Linked DNA regions of Homo sapiens: region 1 is linked to region 2. Evidence: promoter capture Hi-C in 16 types of primary human blood cells and fetal thymus (Javierre and others, 2016). All regions are on one chromosome and are shown on one strand. The core of a region is centred on a gene start or on the middle of the fragment in contact, and the rest is flanking DNA. Distances in the headings are between cores, read along the strand shown. Region 1 holds the start of EXOSC1 (exosome component 1). Region 2 holds the start of FRAT2 (FRAT regulator of Wnt signaling pathway 2).

The links. The method cuts DNA at HindIII sites, captures the fragments that hold promoters and counts their contacts. A CHiCAGO score of 5 or more calls a contact.
Region 1: the fragment with the promoter of EXOSC1 here is called in contact with the fragment with the promoter of FRAT2 in region 2 in 2 of 17 cell types (neutrophils and monocytes); the score reaches 12.6 in neutrophils.

The regions. Positions count from the first base shown.
Region 1 is chr10:97,444,554-97,447,665 of GRCh38, forward strand. EXOSC1 (exosome component 1) reads right to left here and starts at 1,453. Exons shown (of 8, transcript NM_016046.5): 1 at 1,402-1,453; 2 at 1,179-1,294. The coding sequence starts at 1,432. ZDHHC16 (zDHHC palmitoyltransferase 16) reads left to right here and starts at 1,622. Exons shown (of 12, transcript NM_198046.3): 1 at 1,622-1,800. RefSeq lists enhancers at 582-1,162, 1,163-1,742 and a silencer at 1,674-1,883. The HindIII fragment of the contact is 1,823 bases long and covers 710-2,532 here.
Region 2 is chr10:97,333,219-97,336,425 of GRCh38, forward strand. FRAT2 (FRAT regulator of Wnt signaling pathway 2) reads right to left here and starts at 1,511. Exons shown (of 1, transcript NM_012083.3): 1 at 1-1,511. The coding sequence starts at 1,354. The coding sequence ends at 653. It overlaps LOC105378448 (a long non-coding RNA gene), which reads left to right and starts at 1,628. Exons shown (of 2, transcript NR_188201.1): 1 at 1,628-1,753. RefSeq lists an enhancer at 222-1,129 and silencers at 680-729, 740-869, 1,210-1,359, 1,450-1,599, 1,730-2,079. The HindIII fragment of the contact is 20,442 bases long and covers 1-3,207 here.

The DNA of each region.
Region 1 (3,112 bases), core at 203-2,702, 110 kb after region 2:
ACCATATGCTCATTTGAGCATTTATTTGTTTACAATTTGTGTCTGTGTCCTTTGATAGCAGAAACCAAGTCAGCGCTGTGCCTGACACATGAAAATACTCAAGTGATATCTATGAAATGAACAAACTCAGGACTGTTAAGAACATTCCCAACAATGACTGAATAGAAAGCCCCTTGAATCAGACAGCTTAAGTTACTTACTCAAAGCAGAATCAAAGTCAAGTTAGCCAGAACGTAACTGTTCTAATTCTGAATCCTCTTTCTATTGTGCTCCTTCAAATATTGCTTATATGATCCTGAGCTAATCCTGGATCTATCTCTGAAACTAGAAAGGTAGGTATTACTCACACATTCAACATTTATTGAGGAGCTGCCTTGTGCTATATACGGATGGTATGGTGGTAGGGCCTGCTTTCACGGACTTAGATTTAAGCAGGGGAGAAGTCTAGTAGGAAACATATACCTGAGTGTCTCATCATATGCTGACATAGTGCTTGGAAGAAAAGGAACAGAGTTTTTTGTGAGTCTTTAACAAAACAAACAAAAACAAAACACCCCACAAAACTCCTTTCCTCAATTAGTGGGTCCAGAAGGACTTCTCTGAGGTGATAGTAGAGAAGCTATCTAAAGGAGGTAGGAATTAAATAGGCCTAGGAAGATAGAAGCGTTCCAGATAGATGGCATGTTACAAAGGCTCTGTAGCAGGAGAAAGCTTGGCGCATTACCGACACTGAAAGAAGCTAGTATGTTATAAAAAATTTTTAAAGGGCAAGCAGAGACTGTGATTATAACTTTTAAACACAGAAAAGACAGTATGACTAGATTGCGTCAGTGAGGTGGAGATAGTGGCGCTAGATAAAGTCGGAAAGGTAAGCAACATTCATACAGTATGCAACTCACTGCTGGGCTGAGCTGGGCTGGGATGGGATACTGAGTTCGCATCTGCTTTTGTCCCAACTTCCCTCCCCGAGGGTCAGCAGCACAACCAAGCGAGATCAACACAACTAGTGTGTGGTGGCTAAGTGCACCACAGCGGCGATACGGCTAGAAGAAACTAAGAGACCAACATTGTACCACTGAGGCACTAAAGACGCGTCCGCAGTGCCCATGCCTAAGGACTGGAACTCAAGGGCAGCCTAAGGGAAAAACAGAGGGGAGATGGCATGCCGCTTCCTTTACCGCGCCATTCTCGCTGCTCTTCATCAGACAGCCGGCAAGCGACGAAAAGATGTAGCCGTGGCGGGTGTAGGTGCCGCTGCCCGGGCTGCCCTCCTCCAAGTTACACAGACGTTCGCCTGCAGAAAAAATGCTGCATCGGTCACGGGCCCCCAGAAGCTGTAGGCCGTTTAGCCTTCTTGCTTCAGCCCCTATCCAGGACTCTGTACGGGAAGCGCTCACTTACCGGGGATGCAGTATCTCACAGGTGGCGCCATGATTGCCGCTGTCCCAAAACCAGGATGAAAACGAAGTCGATTTCTCATTGGCCAAACCCAGGCACAGTTCCGCAGTAAGACACGTGTCAATTGGTACTCTTTATCCTTGCGAGTAAACTCCATTTCCCAGGTTACCCCGGGACAAATCCGGGGGCGGAACTTCAGAGGTCCACGCTGGCGCCTGCGCGTGTGGTTGAGGATGGGCTGGCGGCGGGTCCGGGTCCGCTGCCTGGCGCTGCGGGCGGCGGGCCATGGTGGTTTGGATTGAGCCGGGCCCGGCCGGGGCGCCGAGTCGGAGGGGGTGGCAGTGAGCGGCGGCAGAGGCTACGGGGCTCGGTTTGGCTGACTGGGGAGTCGGCAGGCGGCAGGTAAGGGCGAAGCCTCGGCCCTTGCTCCCCATCCTAGTCCCTTTTTCTGGGTAGGGCACTGCCCTGGGGCCTTGTCTTGAGTGCGGGTTCCTGCTCTCTCCTCGCCCCGCCCTGCGGGGCCGTGCCCTCCTCAGCCCGAGCGCACCTTCCGAGCAATCGTTACGCTCAGAGCAGGAGGGAAGGAGGTCAAGCGACCCAACTCGTCTGTTTCACAGATATGGAACCTCAGATTCAGAGACAGGGTTTGACTTGTCCAAAATGATCAAGATAGTTAAGATAGAGCCCAAACTGGAACCCACGGTTTTTGACTTCCAGTCCATCGCAGTTTCACCTCGCGGCTGTCATTGAGAAATAAAACCTTTTCCCGGTTTTTTTGTTTTGTTTTTGAGGAGTCTCGCTCTGTCGCCAGGCTGGAGTGCAGTGGAGCGATCTCTGTTCACTGCAACCTCCGCCTCCCGGCATCAAGCGATTCTCCTGCCTCAGCCTCCCGCGCAGCTGGGACTTACAGGCGCGCGCCACCACGCCCAGCTAATTTTTGTAGTTTTAGTAGTGACGGGGTTTCACCATGTTAGCCAGGATGGTCTTGATCTCTTGATCCGCCCGCCTCGGCCTTCCAAAGTGCAGGGAGTACAGGCATGAGCCACTGCCTCCGGCCTTTTCCCGGTTTTTTAAACTGCAGCTTCCAGTCCTGCGGTCCGATCCTCTTCGCGGCCCCTCATCCCCACTTCAGTAAGCTTTCTCTGGTTGAAAAAGCCGAACTCTGGTTGTGTGGGCCCGTCATCAAAAGATAAGCAGCCCCAAAATAAAGTTGTTACTCTTTTTCTTCTCAGCGTGTTAGCCCAGAAGGGAGGTCTGCACATGAATAAAATGCTACTCTTTATTGATGTTGGGTATCTCCTACTTGAGATTGCAAACATCCTGAGAGCAGCGTCTTTGTCCAGATGACATTCGCCACGACTTTGATCTCAGTTCACCTGACTTCTGATGGCTTTGCCGTCTGTCCTTCCCTGTCCCCTCAGTCGACTTTCCCATTGGGAAACAGATGTGACTTAAAGCCATGGGAAGAGGGGAGTGTTGTGGCCAGCAATCTCCTCCAGTCTGGTGGCAGATGACCAGTATGGCCTGTGACTATTACTGAAGGATCAGAGTACTCGGGCTTGTGCTTGGGGTGGTAGTAAAGCTGCGCTTTGCTCTGTTTCCTCCCGTTCACTGAGATTAGCCCCTTCTCCCCTACACACATCTTTTTGAATTTTGCTTTACTTCTATTTCTTGAGATGAAAAGTCTGGGCCAGGTGCGGTGGCTCACGCCTGC
Region 2 (3,207 bases), core at 261-2,760:
ATTTACAAGTCCACATTCAAATCCAAATCTCCCACCTGCAAAATTCTTCACCTCTCTCCAGTCCCTTAATTGGAGTTCACATCTCCCACCTTCACCAGCCACCGAATCGGTGGGAAAAAGGGGCAATGCCAAGCCACCCACCACCAAACTTTTACATTCTTCTCCCCTCTGGAATTTCTTTGCACAGCAATTGTAGCACCACTTACTAAGCTCCTCCACCAGAAAATAAGAAAATGTATGCGTGTCGTTAGTTTTCAAGTATTGTTATAAAGCCATCGCGATTCCTACCCCTGAGCCCTCCTTAAACAATCCAAGCTCACGACGCCCCCAAGGGCTAAGTGAGGTACAAGTCGATGCAAGTAGCTGCCATAGTTCTCCCAGTTTATCCCAGGTCCTTGGGCTTGGATGGCCCGGGAAATTCTCATGCCCCACGGAAGCACCCTGGCGCATACATTTCTCCACGCTTAAGTTTTCTCCGACGGCCTCGCCGCGGCTGGTAACTTCTCTGGTTGAGATCTCTCCCCACGCGCCTCCCCGCAGCCAAAGTGGTCGCTCCCAGGCTGGCGACGTCGGCTTCAGCTCAGAGTTAGTAGGAACTGGACGCTGTTGGGTCTACGCAGCGGCCTCCACTTCCTCCTCCAGGAGGCCTGCGTCAGAGCAAGGAGCCTGAGGGCTGCAGGGCAATGCGGTCAGGTCCGCTGCGGCCTCCCCCGGGCCCAGGGGCGCTTGCGGGGCCCGTGGCTGCAACCGCGGCGACGGCTCGTTGGAGTCTCCGCACGGCTTCCTTGATGAGGTTTCCCGAGAGCACGAGCTGCTGGAGGAGCCGATGCGGGTCGTCGTCGCCGGCGCGTGCCCCGGCTTGGGTCCATCGGCGCTGCTGCAAGCGGCGGGAGGTGACCGCGTCCCTGAGCCATCCTCGCCGGCACGGCCCCGGCAGCGCGCTGGGGCCTGCGGCGACCTCCGCCACGCAGTAGGGCGCAGCGCGTCCGCGCACGCGGCCGCGGTCCCCTAGGGCGCAGCGCAGGGCCCCAGAGGGCGCCGGGCCCACCGTCTCAGCCGAAGCGGGCGGCAGCAGCAGCGGCACCGCCGGGGGCCGGGCCTTGTCCGCCGGCACCGCCGCAGCCAGGGGCCCCGGGGCCCGCAGCGGCACCCCCGGGGGCGCGCACGGCGAGGCCGGGCTGTCCTGCGCCGCGTCCAGCTGCAGCGTCTCGCCGATCTGGGCCACCAGCCGGTCCACCTCGCCCGAGCTGCCCAGCGTCACCGACTGCTGCAGCAGGAGGAAGCTGTCGTCCTCCTCTTCCTCCCCCTCCGCCTCCTCGCCGGCTTCCTCTTCCTCCTCCCTCCGGCACGGCATGGCCCCCCGTCCTGGCACCCGGAGCTGTGCGGGCTTCGCTGGGGGCTTGGTTGCCCGCGGGCGCGGAGCTGCGGGCGAAGCCGGAGCAGGGGCGGACGCGGAAGCCGGAGCCCGCCAGGCACTCGAGCCACGCGCCTGCAGCCGCTGGAGCCGGAATCCTGCCGGCTCGGGTTGATTTGTAAACAATGGGTGACGTCGCGCCGGGCCCTACCACCGCACCGGGGCGGGGGTGACGCGCGAGCAGGCACGGGGGCAAAGGGCGGCGCGGGCGGTGACCGAAGCCGTCCCGCGCCTGTGTTCGTTGTCCCTCCAGGAGGGGGTCCGGGGCGTGGGGACTGATTTCCGACCTCCCGGGCCCAACGAGCCGTGCTGAAACGTGGCGCCTCGGAGGAGGCTGAGGTTGGTTTCTCCCACGCACGGACACACCCACACCCACTCCGGGCCCGCCTCCTGGGCCGCGGCCTCCCTCCCCACGTGTCGGCCGCGCCTAAGCCCGCCCGACTCCCGCCCCGCGCACCCGCAGTTCCCGGCCCTGGTCGTGGGGGAGGGGCGGGCCGCCGCGGGTCCGGCTTCGACGAGGCGGGGCGGGGAAAGGCGGAGGGAATTGGGAGTGAAGAGGCGGCACGTTACTTATTTACTTATTTATTATTTAGAAAAGGTCTCTGTCGCCCAGGCTGAAGTATAGTGGCGCGAACACGGCTGACTGCAGCCTCGAACTCTGGCTTAAGTAATCATCCCACTTTAAGCCTCCGGAGCAGCTGGGACCACAGGCGCGGCCACCACGCCTGGCTAATTAAAAAAATTTTTTTTGTAGAGACGGTGGTGGGGGGGGGGGGTCTCACTATATTGCCCAGGCTGGTCTCGAACTCTTGGGCTCAAGGAGTCCTCGCTCCTCGGCCTCCGAAAGTGTTGGGGTTACTGGCGTCAGCCGCCGCGCCCGGCCTAAGAGGGGACGCTTTGAAGCAGAGCAGAATCGCTCTGAGGTGAGGTCCCAGAGGCTTTCCCTCCCGCAGTCTTCAAGCCCCCGGACATATCATGAGAATAGGACTCACCGCCGCTCGGCTAAAGAAGGGTCTTTTTTTTTTTTTAAGGTTCAAATAGAAATATAGGGGATTGGCCAGGAGCGGTGGGTGGCTCATGCCTGTGATCCCAACACTTTGGGAGGCCGAGGCGGGCGGATCACCTGAGGTCAGGAGTTCCAGACCAGTCTGGCCAACATGGTGAAACCCCATCTCTGCTAAAAATACAAAAATTAGCCGGGCGTGGTGGCGGGCGCCTGTAATCCCAGCTACTCGGGAGACTGAGGCAGGAGAATGGTTTGAACCCTGGAGGCGGAGGTTGCAGTGAGCCGAGATCACGCCACTGCACTCCAGCCTGGGCAACAAAGCGAGACTCCGTCTCAAAAAAAAAAAGAAAAATATAAGGGATGGAAAAAATCTCTCATGGTTCACATTTAAATTTTTTTCCTTTTTAGCCTTTGTTCTATGAAAGTGTAGTATACAAACACATGCATACAGTGTTACACACTTTTCCACTTTGCCTTACATCATAAACGTTTTTCGTGTTATTGCATGCACTTTGAAAACATTTTAATGATTACATAAGTTTCCATCAAGTGCCTATGTTTTTAACATTTGCCTAATTTCACCATCGTTAAGTGTGTAACTAACATTTTTGTGCGCGACACTTTAAGATATTGATGATTCTTTCCTTAGGGCATATTCCCAGGAGTGGAATTTTAAGTCACAGTAGTTGGGTATTTTAAGGTTTACTGATAAATGTTCAGGAAGTGTCTTTCCAAGAGTTAGGTAAATGTACTCTACCATCATTAATGCTTGAGCATACATCATTAC